Regions from separate parts of the Homo sapiens genome. Here region 1 is linked to region 2. Evidence: promoter capture Hi-C in human tissues and cell types (Jung and others, 2019). All regions are on one chromosome and are shown on one strand. The core of a region is centred on a gene start or on the middle of the fragment in contact, and the rest is flanking DNA. Distances in the headings are between cores, read along the strand shown. Region 1 holds the start of PHLDB3 (pleckstrin homology like domain family B member 3). Region 2 holds the start of CADM4 (cell adhesion molecule 4).

What was found. The method cuts DNA at HindIII sites, captures the fragments that hold promoters and counts their contacts. A contact is called where the count stands out against the background at its distance.
Region 1: the fragment with the promoter of PHLDB3 here is called in contact with the fragment with the promoter of CADM4 in region 2 in 8 of the 25 tissues and cell types used here (IMR-90 fibroblasts, adrenal gland, aorta and 5 more).

What each region holds. Positions count from the first base shown.
Region 1 is chr19:43,501,106-43,507,023 of GRCh38, forward strand. It overlaps PHLDB3 (pleckstrin homology like domain family B member 3), which reads right to left and starts at 3,641. Exons shown (of 16, transcript NM_198850.4): 1 at 3,484-3,641; 2 at 2,801-3,027; 3 at 996-1,178; 4 at 629-766. The coding sequence starts at 3,013. ETHE1 (ETHE1 persulfide dioxygenase) reads right to left here. Exons shown (of 7, transcript NM_014297.5): 7 at 5,614-5,797. The coding sequence ends at 5,745. RefSeq lists an enhancer at 2,777-3,299 and silencers at 2,928-3,177, 3,778-3,837. The HindIII fragment of the contact is 32,375 bases long and covers 1-5,918 here.
Region 2 is chr19:43,636,771-43,642,969 of GRCh38, forward strand. It overlaps CADM4 (cell adhesion molecule 4), which reads right to left and starts at 3,080. Exons shown (of 9, transcript NM_145296.2): 1 at 2,957-3,080. The coding sequence starts at 3,020. RefSeq lists a silencer at 2,964-3,103. The HindIII fragment of the contact is 16,381 bases long and covers 1-6,199 here.

The DNA.
Region 1 (5,918 bases), core at 2,391-4,890, 140 kb before region 2:
AAGCTGGTGGGCACAGGACATGGGAGCTGCCTGACTATTGTGGGGTGGGTTTGGAAGTTTTCTTTTTCTCTTTTTTTTTTTTTTTTTTTTTTGAGACGGAGTCTCCTTCTTGTCACGCAGGCTGCTGGAGTGCAATGGTGCGATCTTGGCTCACTGCAACCTCCATCTCCCGGATTCAAGCGATTCTCCTGCCTCAGCCTCCCAAGTAGCTGGGACTACAGGCGCCCGCCACCACGCCCTGCTAATTTTTGTATTTTTAAGCAGAGACGGGGTTTCGCCATGTTGCCCAGGCTGGTCTCAAACTCCTGAGCTCAGGCAATCCGCCCGCCTCGGCCTCCCAAAGTGCTATGATTACAGGCGTGAGCCACTGCTTCCGGCCAGTTTGGAAGTTTTTACACACCCACATTTAAATAGCAAACGGACAGGGGACAAAGGAAGAGCCCCAAAAATCTCGCCCAGGGAGGGAGAAGGAAAACCAGGAGGGGCATCTGCCCCTCACTCTCTCAGGAGCCCAAATGTCTTCCTTTGGGGAATGGGGACAACCCCGGGGCGCAGGTGGCTAGGAGCACACCAACATCCATGGACCAGGAAGGACACTGCTGATGAAGACCCGGTGAGCCAAACAGACCTGTTCCCGCTGCTGGCGGCCGCGCTGCTCCGAGGCCGCCTGCTGCTCCAGCAGCTCCCGCAGCTGCTCCTCCTCCCGGCGAGCGGCCACTCGCTCCCCAGCCAGCTCACCCCGCAGCAAGGCCACCTCCACCTCCATCTGCGGAGAGAATGCCAGGGCTGGGGGCTCGGACGCCTAGGTCCAAGGAAGAGGCCCAGGGCCTGAACTACCGGATTCGAAGGGAGGATGGACTCCAGGGACCTGAATTTGGAGGGAGGAAGAGCGGAGGGCCTAAAATCTGATCCCACCCGAGGAAAAAGCTGGGAGTCCGGCTTTGCGGGTTCCGCTTGAGTTGGGGCCAGGCTTCCCAAGGGGTCCGCAGCCTCACCTCGATCCTCAGCTCCTTCCTCTGGCGCTGTAGCTCCTTCACTCGCTGCTCCATCAGGGCCACACGAGTCAATGCCTCCAGCTGCTGTCCTTGCAGGCGCCGCGCCGCCCCTCGCACCCCTTCCCGCGAAGAGGTGGATGCGGGAGGTGTGGCCGCCATAGCTATCGGAGGCGTAGCCTCGGGCTGAAGTTGAGGGGGGCGTGGTTAAGTGGAGATGCCTCGCCCCCTGCAATCACTAAGTAGGTCTGGTCCCCACCCAACATCACCCTCTGCGGGTCTCAGTCCATCAGTCCACTTACCTAACACAACCACCACTCCCATAATCTGTCGCAGGCTCTTTTCTTTTTCTTTCTTATCTTTTTTTTTTTTTTGTCCTGAGATAGGGTCTCACTGGCTGGAGTGCAGTGGCGCGATTACGGCTCACTGCAGCATCGACCTCCCTCGCTCAAGCGATTCTTCTGCCTCATCCTCCTAGGTAGCTGTGACTACAGGCGCGCACCGCCACGCCAAGCTCTTTTTTTTTTTTTTTTTTTTTGGCAGAGAGGGGGCGATGCTATGTTGCCCAGGCTGGTCTCAAACTCCTAGGCTCAAGGGATTCTCCCACCTCGGCCTCCCAAAGTGCTACGATTACAGGCATAAGCCACCGCGCCCGGCCTCAGACCCCTGTATTTAAGGTCGGAGTGGGGGAGGGTGCAAGTCCCGTGACCACCCAACCACACGGACCACAGAGGCTTGCAGTACCGTATGGAGGGTGAGCAGGTGTAAAGCCGACTTATGAAAGGTGTTTCTTTTTCTCTATCAGGTCCTATTCTCTTGGCGTCACTTTCTTGTAGTGCCTGGATCTGTCTCTGTCTCTCCACCTGACCCCAGTCTCTCAGATTCGGTATCTGTCCACTAGATCTGTCCACTAGAATCACTAGATCTTTCTTCCTCGGAGTATGTCCCTCTCTCGAGGTTTTTGTCTATTTGTTTCTCTGAGCATCTCTGCCATTTATTTCTGGGTTTCCCTCTGTCTCGATTCCCCTCTCTCTGACTCTAGTCTCACTGTGTCTCTGTCTTTTTGGGGTCTTTGTCTCTCAGTCTCCATGTCTCTGGGTCTCTGTCTGGCTTCTTGATCTCTCTGCATCTCTTACTCGTTTGGTTCTCTCTGTTCTGTAGTCTCTCCTGTCTGTCTATCTGGTCTCTCTCTCTCTCTCTCTCTCTCTCTCTCTCTCTCATTTTTAGAGATAGGTTCTGCTTTGTCCCAGGCTGGGGTGCAGTGGCGCAGTCATAGTTCACCGCAGCCTACAACTCCTGGGCTCAAGCGATCCTCCTGCCTCAGCCTCCCGAGTAGCTGGGATTACAGGCACGCGGCACTGCGCTTGGACAATTTTTGTATTTTTTTTTTCTCTAGAGACAGGGATTTGCTATGTTGCCCAGACTTGTCTCGAACTCCTGGGCTTAAGCAATCCTCCCCTCGGCCTCCCCAAGTGCTGGGATTACAGGCGTGAGCCACCTATCTGGTTCCTCTATACTAGTCTCTCTGTCTCTGTCGCCCGTTTGGGTCTATCTCCGTTCTTGGGGCCTCCCCGTGGCTCTATCTGGTTTCTGTCTCTGTATCTGGTTTCTGTCTGTCTGTGCCTCTGCCTCTCTGGCTCCGTGTCCTGGTGTATCTCTCTCTCAGTAGTCTCTGCTATCACTCGGTCTCTCTCCCTGTCTCCGGGTCTCTGTCTTTCTGGTTTCCCTCTACCTGTCTACCTGTCTGGCCACCTGTTTGGGTCCCCGTCGGTCCAAGCCCCCCGCGCTGTCGCCCTCGGGCCCCTCACCGCGTCGCGGCTGCTCTCAGTGCTGCTGCCTTCTCCCACTTCTTCTTCCTCTGCCTGCTGCTCAGCTCCCCCGCGGCTCGAAGGTTCCGCCAGGACTTCGGATGCCTCCTGTTCCCGGGACTCCTCGGGATGGCCCTGGGGCTGGACCTCCACGTCGCATTCCGGGACCAGCGGCGGCGGGGTCCCCTCCTCGGGGCTGCTTCGCGTCCCCATGGCCGCTGGGACTCCTGCGGGGTGGGCGGGACCAGAAGCTCCGGGGGCGGGGCCTAGGACGGCTGAGCGCCGCTCGCGTCTGCTCCGGGGCGCGGAGACCCCCCCCCAAGGAGGCGGGGCCTAAGAGTTCAAAGGATGGAACTGAGCGTTACGGAGGCGTGTCCTGAAGTTTCCAGAGGCGGGGCTTGATGGCTCCAAGGCGACACGCCACCGGAGACGGGACCGGAATTTGAGTCCGGGTCGTAGCACGCCCCCTACTGACCTCTTCGACCCCGCCTCCCCTCCCTCATCTCTAGGTGTCAGGCCTTGTACCCTCCCAGCAGCCCCCTACAATCTCTTGGATTCGCTTAGAGCGACCCATCTTCTCCCTCCGAGACTCAGCAGTTCGGCTCCCGCCCCATCCTTCCCGGAGCCCCGTAGTCTTAGTCCCGACCCCACTGTGCAGGGCAACCGTGCCCACGCCGCCTCACCCAGGGATCCAGGAGTCGGGGCTCTCCTTCTCTGAACAAGCCAGGAGTCGGAGTCCTTGAGATTCCGAAGTCCAACTGCCACCTCCCCACAGCCTCGGCCCCCTCACGAGCTCAGGCTTCGGCGCGCTCCGCTCTGCGCGCTGGGCACGGCCGCTTCTGCCTATGAGACAGGTGGCAGGGGAAGAGGGAGGAGAGAGGCCGCCCGGTCCCCCTCCCCAGCAGCCCGGAAGTGGAGGGGGGACAACAGGTCCAACAGCTCCCGAGGGAGGAGGGAGCCACGGGCTTGCCCCACCCGTGGCCTCGGCATCCGGCCATCCCGGCCCCACCGGCCCCGGCCCGGCCCCACCCTCGTGGAACTCAGCATCGCGACCTCCCAGTCTCCCTCGAGCCCCTCATTCCTGCCCCCCTGGAGGAGTCTTGGCCACCTCTGTATGGGAGCCTCTCTAATGTCCAGACCTTGGGAGTTCAGAAAGGAAGGCAGGAATGGAGATGGGGACGTCTCCCCTCTAATGAGCCCTTCAGAAGGGCCCTGACCGGTTTGGGGAGCTGGACAAGGGGAAGGGGTGCCCTGAACTGAGTCAGACACCTGCCCAGAGACTGAGGGAAGTGTACCGCCACCCCCCCACAACTTTGCTATGGGGTGGAGGGCAGAGGTTAAAGGTCTCAGCCAGACCCTTTCCTCTCTGGGCGAAAACAGGAAAATGAAAACAGGAAAATAACTGGTATATGAAAAGGGATGATTAGAAGTCAAGAGCTGTGTGAAACACTTTATACCCAGTCATTTAATTTCACCCTCAAAGCTGTCCAGCGAGAAAGTGATTACTACCTCCATTTCTTTTTTTTTAGTAGAGACTGGGTTTCTCCAGGTTGCCCAGGCTGATCTTGAACTCCTGGGCTCAAACAACCTGCCTGCCTCAGCCTCCCAAAGTGTTGAGATTACAGGCGTGAGCCACCGCTCCTGGCCTACTATCTCCATTTTACACTTGGGGATACAAGCTGAGGAGGACAAATGCACCCAAGGTTGGCTGGGCACAGAGGCTCAGGCCTGTAATCCCAGCACTTTGGGAAGCCGAGGCAGGTGGATTGCTTGAGATCAGGAGTTCAAGGCCAGCCTGGGCAACATGGAGAAACCCCATCTCTACTAAAAATACAAAAATTATGCCAGGCGTGGTGGCACACACCTGTCATCTCAGCTACTCCAGAGGCTGAGGCAGGAGGATATCTCGAGCCCAGGAGGTCGAGGCTGCAGTGAGTCTTGAATGTGCCACTGCACTCCAGCCTGGGCGACAGAGTAAGACCCCATCTCAGAAAAAAAAAAAAAAATGTAGCCAACATCTACACATGTTGTAAGTGGTAAAATGCAGGCTTCATTCTCTCAAAAGTCCATGTTCTTAACCATTGCGTATACTGTCACTACAAGCCAGGAAGTACCCAAAAGATCATTCTAAATGATAGTAACTTTAATGGTGAACACTGATAGGCCATGTGCCAGGCACTCACACACATTGACTCATCAGAGCATCACAACACCCCATTATTATTCCTTCCATTTTAGAGATAAGAAAACTGAGGCCTAGAGAAGTGAAGTAACTTACCCCAGGGCTAAGTGGGAAGTGGCTCAAAAGCAAGCCGGTGTTCTAATCCAAGGTGATGAGAAGACCTGCCCCAGATAGCTGTGTTTGTTTTTGATCTTGTGAGTTAGAAATCTTGTGGGCTCCCGGGCTGGGCGCGGTGGCTCACACCTGTAATCCCAGCACTTTGGGAGGCCGAGGCTGGTGGATCACGAGGTCAGGAGATCAAGATCATATTGGCTAACATGGTCAAACCCTGTCTCTACTAAAAATATGAAAAAATTAGCCGGGCATGGTGGCACGCGCCTGTAGTCCCAGCTACTTGGGAAGCTGATGCAGGAGAATCGCTTGAACCCGGGAGGCAGAGGTTGCAGTGAGCCGAGATCGTGCCACTGCACTCCAGCCTGGGCAATGGAGGGAGACTCCATCTCAAAAAAAAAAAGAAAAGAAAAAGAAAACAAATCTTGCAGGCTCCCTGGCCTCTCCATAGGACCAGAACCCCACCCCTTTCGGCCCAGAAACCCAATTGGTTCCCCCAGAAAATAGGTAGAAGTCAGACTCACGTTAAAAAAAGTTTTATTTAGGGAGCTCCAGGGAATGCGGTGGGAAAGGAGAGGTGCAGTGTCATTGCCGCCCTCTCCTCCCACCTAGTGCATTAATAGTGGATGGGAGCATCTGACAGAAGTGAGATCAGGCAGTGGGTGTCTGCACCCCACAGCGCATGTTGGCTGGAACAGCAAAGTCTGAAAGGAAGAAATCAAGGTTAAAACTAAGGGGCCTAGGTAGAGTTCCAGGCCCCACTGGAGACCCAGAAATCCTAGGAACCTTTCCTCTTCAGGAAACTAGAGTTTTGGTCCTGAGCCC
Region 2 (6,199 bases), core at 1,830-4,329:
CCTGGCTCATGGGTGGGTGGGTGGGGGGGTCAGTGATAGAAACCTCCAAAACCTGTTCCTTGGGGTGACTCACAATGGAGGGAGGGTCCCCCTATTCTCAAGAGTGGCTGGTCAGAATTTTAGCAGGAAAAAGTGAGTCACCCTGGGAAGGAAACATTATTTAGGGACCAACAACTGCCCCCTCCACAAGACCCCTCAACTCCTAATAGCCTCTCTATTCTTTCTTTGTATTGGATATCTGTTTCCTCTCCTCCTTTCTGTTCTACCCAGTTTCTGGCTGCGGGTCCCATTTCTGCCTGGGTGCATCCCTGGGCAGGCAACCCATCCCTCCCTCTTGCTTTCTCTCCTCTGCCCACCCTGGATCCTTCTTTGGGCATAAATCTCATCTTCTTCTGCTATGCTCAGAAGATGAATGAACCAGGAGAGAGAGAACATGTTTTTAAAATGGCGCAAATGCACCCCATCTCCCCCGATTCCTGCTGGCTGGGCAAGGTGAGAGAGGAAGAAGTGACTAAGAGAGAAATGTGGGAACAACAGATACCCCCTAAAATGTGGTAGCCAAGGCCACTGAGAAATATCCAATGGAAAGGAGAGCAGGAAGGGCCCTCCAAGACCACATGCTACAGCCTCCTACCCCATGCTTTACAGAACGGGAAAGTAAGGCCCAGAGAGGGACAAGGACTGATGCAAAATTATACTAAAGGGTCCTGGGTAAGGCTTGGACCCAAGTTCCTTAGCTCCCAGCTGAGAGCTCTTCCCATGACACCAAGCTCAGTTTCTACTGGTAAAAGCCACATACTATTTACTTTAGAGAAAGTTTACAGAGAGGGTTAGGGTGCCAGGAAGCAGTGACTTGGAAATCAAACGAGGGACAGGGCTGTAGACCTAACTCCCAGAAGCACCAGAGAAAGGCTTTTGCACGGGGCGGGTGGTCACCTTAAGCTATATTCTGATCCTGAGAATTCAAAGTCTGATGATTCTAAGCTGTCAGGATTCTAAATGTCATAGATGTCAAGATCCAGGAACTCCAAGACATCAAGATTTCACGATTTTTAAGACGTCAAGATGCTAGCATGCTAACACCATCACGGTTCTAGAACTTTAAAGGTGTCAAGATTCTAAAGCCTTCTGGATTCTAGAATCCTGTAGATGTCAGCATTCTAAAGTACCATCAGGTTCTTTATTTACTGGATTCATTAGTTCCAGGATTCTATGAGCCTGGTGTTTAGCCTAAAAAATAAAGATAAATTAAAATTGATGGAAATGTCACTGAGGTACCAAAGTTCTCATCTGGGAAATTGTGGCATGTCTGTTGTAAAGAAAGGAGGTAATGATGCAAGTTCTAAAGCAGTCACAGAAGACTAGAGAAGAAAGAAAGACAGTGAGAGGACAGCTTTGCCCCTCATCCTGGCCGAGGTGAGGATGGCTCTGCCTCAAACCCTGGAGTGGGGAACATGTAACCGCACTCAACTTGCCAGAAACCCCTTCACGGTCTGAGCTGGCGTTCCCTTTCATGTCACTGAGTTCAACATCCTCACTTTACAGAAAGAGAAACAGAAGCCTGGAGAGAGGAAGGTGTTTACCATTGGCTGCGATGGCAAATGGCAAGAGCCAAGATTTAAGCCCAGGCCGCCAGCCCCATGCCACCTGGTTATAACTCCTCTCACCAATCTCTGCCGAACACCCAGCCCTCCTGCTTCTGCCTAGCCACCTTCCAATCCTCTGTTCCTTCCAAAAGTGGCCTTATCCACCAGGGAGGGGTGACCCGTGGCAGGTTCAAGACTTACACAGTGTGAGAGTGTGTGTGGGTGACATTTCCTGACCTTGTCCCCATTCTCAGGGTCACCCAACCTCGGGGGTCTCCAGCTTCTCACAGTGTGTGATGAGGGTATGTGGATGGCTCCCTGGATGTCCTGGACAGGGGCTTCTCTGTGAGTCAAGCCTGGGTGTGTGAATGGGTGAGCAGGGTTTGGAGAGGCATTCGCTGAATCCACGTGTGTGCCTACACGCCAAGGTCCCCCATTCTCACTTCCCCACACACATGCACACAGATGTTCCCCTCCAGGGCTCTTTAGAATGCCCTGCCTGACTGAATTCCTCTTCAGGGGCACAGAGGGATAGAGAGAGGGAGGAAGGTAGGATGGGAATGGGAGATCCCGGGATGGAGGCTGTAAGCGTAGAGAGAGGAGGCACAGCAGAAAGACAGGGATGGAGATAGTGGGACAGAGAAGGGGGAAAGAGACAGGTGACAGAAAGGGTTAGAGAAACGAGTGACAGAAAGACAGGGGACAGAGACAAGGGGATGGGGCAGATAGGGGACAGAGAAAAAGGGACAGAAAAACAAGGGTGACAGCGAGACAGAGACAGGGACCAAGAATAGGGGCAGAGAGGGAGGGCAGAAATCCGGGGGAAAGAGAATAGACAGGATGATGGAGGGGACAGAGTGACCCAGGAAAAGGGGACAGAGACCAGGGGACAGAGGTAGGGGACAAAGACAGAATAGATGAGGAACACCGAGGCAAGAAGAGAGGGAGACAGACAGAAGGAGGGACAGGACTTCGAGACTGAGGGATAGAGGACAAGGGTAGGGGGACGAGGAGCCAGACGGGGGGGTTCAGAGACGGGCGGACAGAGGGACGCAGAGACTGGACAGAAGGACAGCGGGACCGGCCTGGGGAGGGCGGACTTGTGTGTGTAGGGGGGTCTCGGGCCCTTTGTCCCCGCCGGGATCCAGCCTGCGCGGGTGGGGGGGCTGCGGCACGGCGGCCGGGCCCCGCGCCCCCTCCCCCGCTCGTCGCTCCCGGCTCCCGGCCCGCGCTGCGCTTTGTCCCGGGGAGGGGGCCCGGCCCGGCCCCGCGCGCATTGTTCGGCCTCTGCGGCCCCGAGGCTGCCGGGCTGTCACCACAGCGCGCCCCCCGCCCCAGCCCGGCCGGCCGACCCCGGCCCCCGACCCTACCTGGCCCCGCCGCGGCCGCCCACAGCAGCAGCAGCGGCCACTGGAAGCGCCGGGCCCGGCCCATGGTGCCGCCGCCGCCGCCGCCGCCGCTCGCTCCCGGCCCGGCACCTGCACCGCCCGCGCCGCCCGCCCCGCCCCCCGCGCCCCGCCCCCTGCCCGCCCGGGGGCGGGGCGCCGAGGCCGGGGCGGGGCCGGGGAGGGGAGGGGGAGACGGAGGAGAGGCCCGGAGACAATCGGGGGGACGGCACGGTGGGGGAACGGTGCGGGGTGCGAAAGCTGGAGAGGAGAGGGGTGAGGAGGGCGGGAAGGGGTGCGCGGGAGGGCGACAGCGGCGTGGGAGCAGGTGGGGGATCTCGGTGAGCGCGGGAAATGGAGGGTGTTGGGTGAGGGTGCTGCGTGCGGGCCCAGGTGCTGCGCGCGAGGGTGCGGAGTTGCTGGCATGCAGGGTGCTTGCGCTGCGCGGAGGGGAGGGTGGCAGGGTGTTGCTGGAGGCTGTGCGAGGGTGGGGGCGCGGGCGTCGTGGGGTGCGGTGTGTGCGAAGGGAGAGCGTGGCCAGCGTGACGGGGGAGCGTAAGGGAGGGAGTGCGACGTGGGAAAGGTGAGTGTGAGAGGCGTGCTGCGGGCAGGTGGGTGTCTGGAGTCTAGCGAGAGGCTGTGAGCTGAGCCACCGGGACAGGGGAGGCTGCAGCTGGAGGTCCGGAGGGTCCGGAGGTCGAGGCAGGTCAAGGATCTCCCAGGGCAGGGCGAGGCTGGGGCTCAGGAGTGGGGTGGGGTCAGTTCCCTCCCTCCCTCTCTCCTGTCCTGACCTGAAAACCCCGTGTTTCCGCGTCATTCTCCGGGAGGGGCCCCCTGAAAGTGAACTAACTGGAAGGAAGCCTGAATCCTGGGTCCCAGGAGGGAGAGGCTCCTGTGAACACCTTCCAAGCCCTGGCGTCCCCTCTCCTCCCTGCTGTCTCCCTGCCCCAGCCTCTCTCCCTCTCTCTGCATGTATTTGCCTCTGCCCTTCCTCTCTCCCCATCTTTGAGGGTGACTCACCCCTCCAGACTTAGGTCCCTTCTCCCTCCTGGGAGTGGGTTTCCCTGAGCCCACTTCTGTGACACCCTGTAGACCTGATGCGGGATCATTACCTATGGGACCCAGAAAGAGTGAGAAACCATGGAAAGAAGGCCTCGACCTCTCTCATGCCCATTTGTCAGGCAAACTGAGGTCCAGAAGTGCCAATTATGAACATCTTTCCTTCCCCCCTCCCCCCTCCCCGCCCAGACGGAGTCTCGCTCTGTTGCCCAGGCTGGAGTGCAGTGGCACGATCTCGACTCACTGCAACCTCTGCCTCCCAGGTTCCAGTGATTCTCCTGCCTCAGCCTCCCGAGTAGCTGAGATTACAGGCGCCCGCCACCATGCCTAGCTAATTTTTATATTTTTAGTAGAGACGGAGTTTTGCCATGCTGGCCAGGCTGGTCTTGAACTCCTTACCTCAGGTGATCCATCTGTCTGGCCTCCCAAAGTGCTGGATTACAGGCGTGAGCCACCATGCCTGGCTGAAAATCCTTACTTTTTATTCCGACTAAAAAATTTTACATCCAGTCCCACAAGGGACTTCAGCTTCACACACCCTTTCTGTCCTCAGTACCCAGCTCCCAGTATCCTTTCTGACCTCAAAACCATAGCTACCATCAACCCTTGTGTCCCAGGACCATGGCTCCCAGTGTCTTCTCTGTCCTCAGGGTCCAAGCTCCCATCAACTCCTGTGTCCTCAGGACCACGGCTCCCAGCATCCTCTCTGTCCTTCAGGTCCAAGCTCCCATCAACCCCTGTGAAGCAGGACCATGGCTCCCAGCATCCTCTCTGTCCTCAGGGTCCAAGCTCCTATCAACTCCTGTGTCCCCAGGACGATGGCTCCAGCAATCCTCTCTGTCCTGAGAGCCCAAGCTTCTAACTGCCCCTGTGTCCCCAGATCCATAGCCCTGAGCAACTTCCTTCTTTTTCAGTCCTCAGCTTCCCAGCTTCTGTAGACTTGGGAAGAGATAGTCTCTAATCCTCTTTCCAGGGCTCACATTCTGTGACTTTTGCTAGATGGGAGAGGAATGTTTGATCTGCCTTTGGAATACTGGTCCAAGGGGTAACTAGTAGTTGCCTTTTCCCGCAGGAGCCAATAGGCCCGCTCACTCTGTGCTCTGACAGATGTCTCCTGCTCCAGCTGAAGGGGAACCTTGGGAGATGTTGGTTTGGTTCTCACCTGTCATCCTTAAGTCCCACCATTCCATGTGAAGACATCACAAGAGTAGTGGTCCTGACGGGCGCGTTGGCTCACACCTGTAATCCCAGCACTTTGGGAGGCCAAGGTGGGCCGATCACTTGAGGTCAGGAGTTTGAGACCAGCCTGACCAACCGGCCAACATGGTGAAACACCATCTTTACCAAAAAAAAAAAAAAAAATTAGCAAGGCGTGGTGGCACGTGCCTGTAATCCCAGCTGGTCGGAAGGCTGAGGCATGAGAATCCCCTGAACTTGGGAGGCAGAGGTTGCAGTGAGCTAAGATCATGCCACTGCACTCCAGCCTGGGTGACAGAATGAGACTCAGTCTAAATAATAATAATAATAATAATAATAATAATAATAATAATAATAAATAGAATAGTGGTCCTGTCCCCATCCTACTTCAGGGTACCCTGTCCATTAGGGATTTAGTGCAAGTGACAGCAAGTGCAACCCAACTGGTTTGAGAGAAAGAGAACTGGTTCACACATAACAAAAAGTCCTTCTATGGCTGGCTTTGGCGAGGTCTGTCAATCTCTGTCCTAAGGATGCATGGCTCCCCTCCTGTAGCAAGATGGCTGGCAGATACCCCTGGGGCCAGATTCATATTTGGGGTGATTAAGATTCTGCAAGAGAGAGACAACCTTTATTTCACACAGCTTTTCAATTGTTGCCTGTCCCTGGTGAGACTCGGAGACCTAGCTCTTGCCTGGTTTCTAAACTTTCAATAACACCGTTTTTGCTTAAGTCAGCACAAACAGATTTTATTTCTTGCAAGCAAAGATTCCTGAACAACAACTTCAGAGCCGTTAACAATGAGGTCCTGATCACAAGCTATGGTATAGGACGTGAGAAATTTGTCCCTAGCCTCAATATCTGCTGGAGGGCATCATGGAATAAGTATTTCTATCCTCTGATCCCCACTGTAGGGCATCATGGGATATATAATCCTAACCTTCAATCTCTGCCATAGAGTTTCATAGGCAA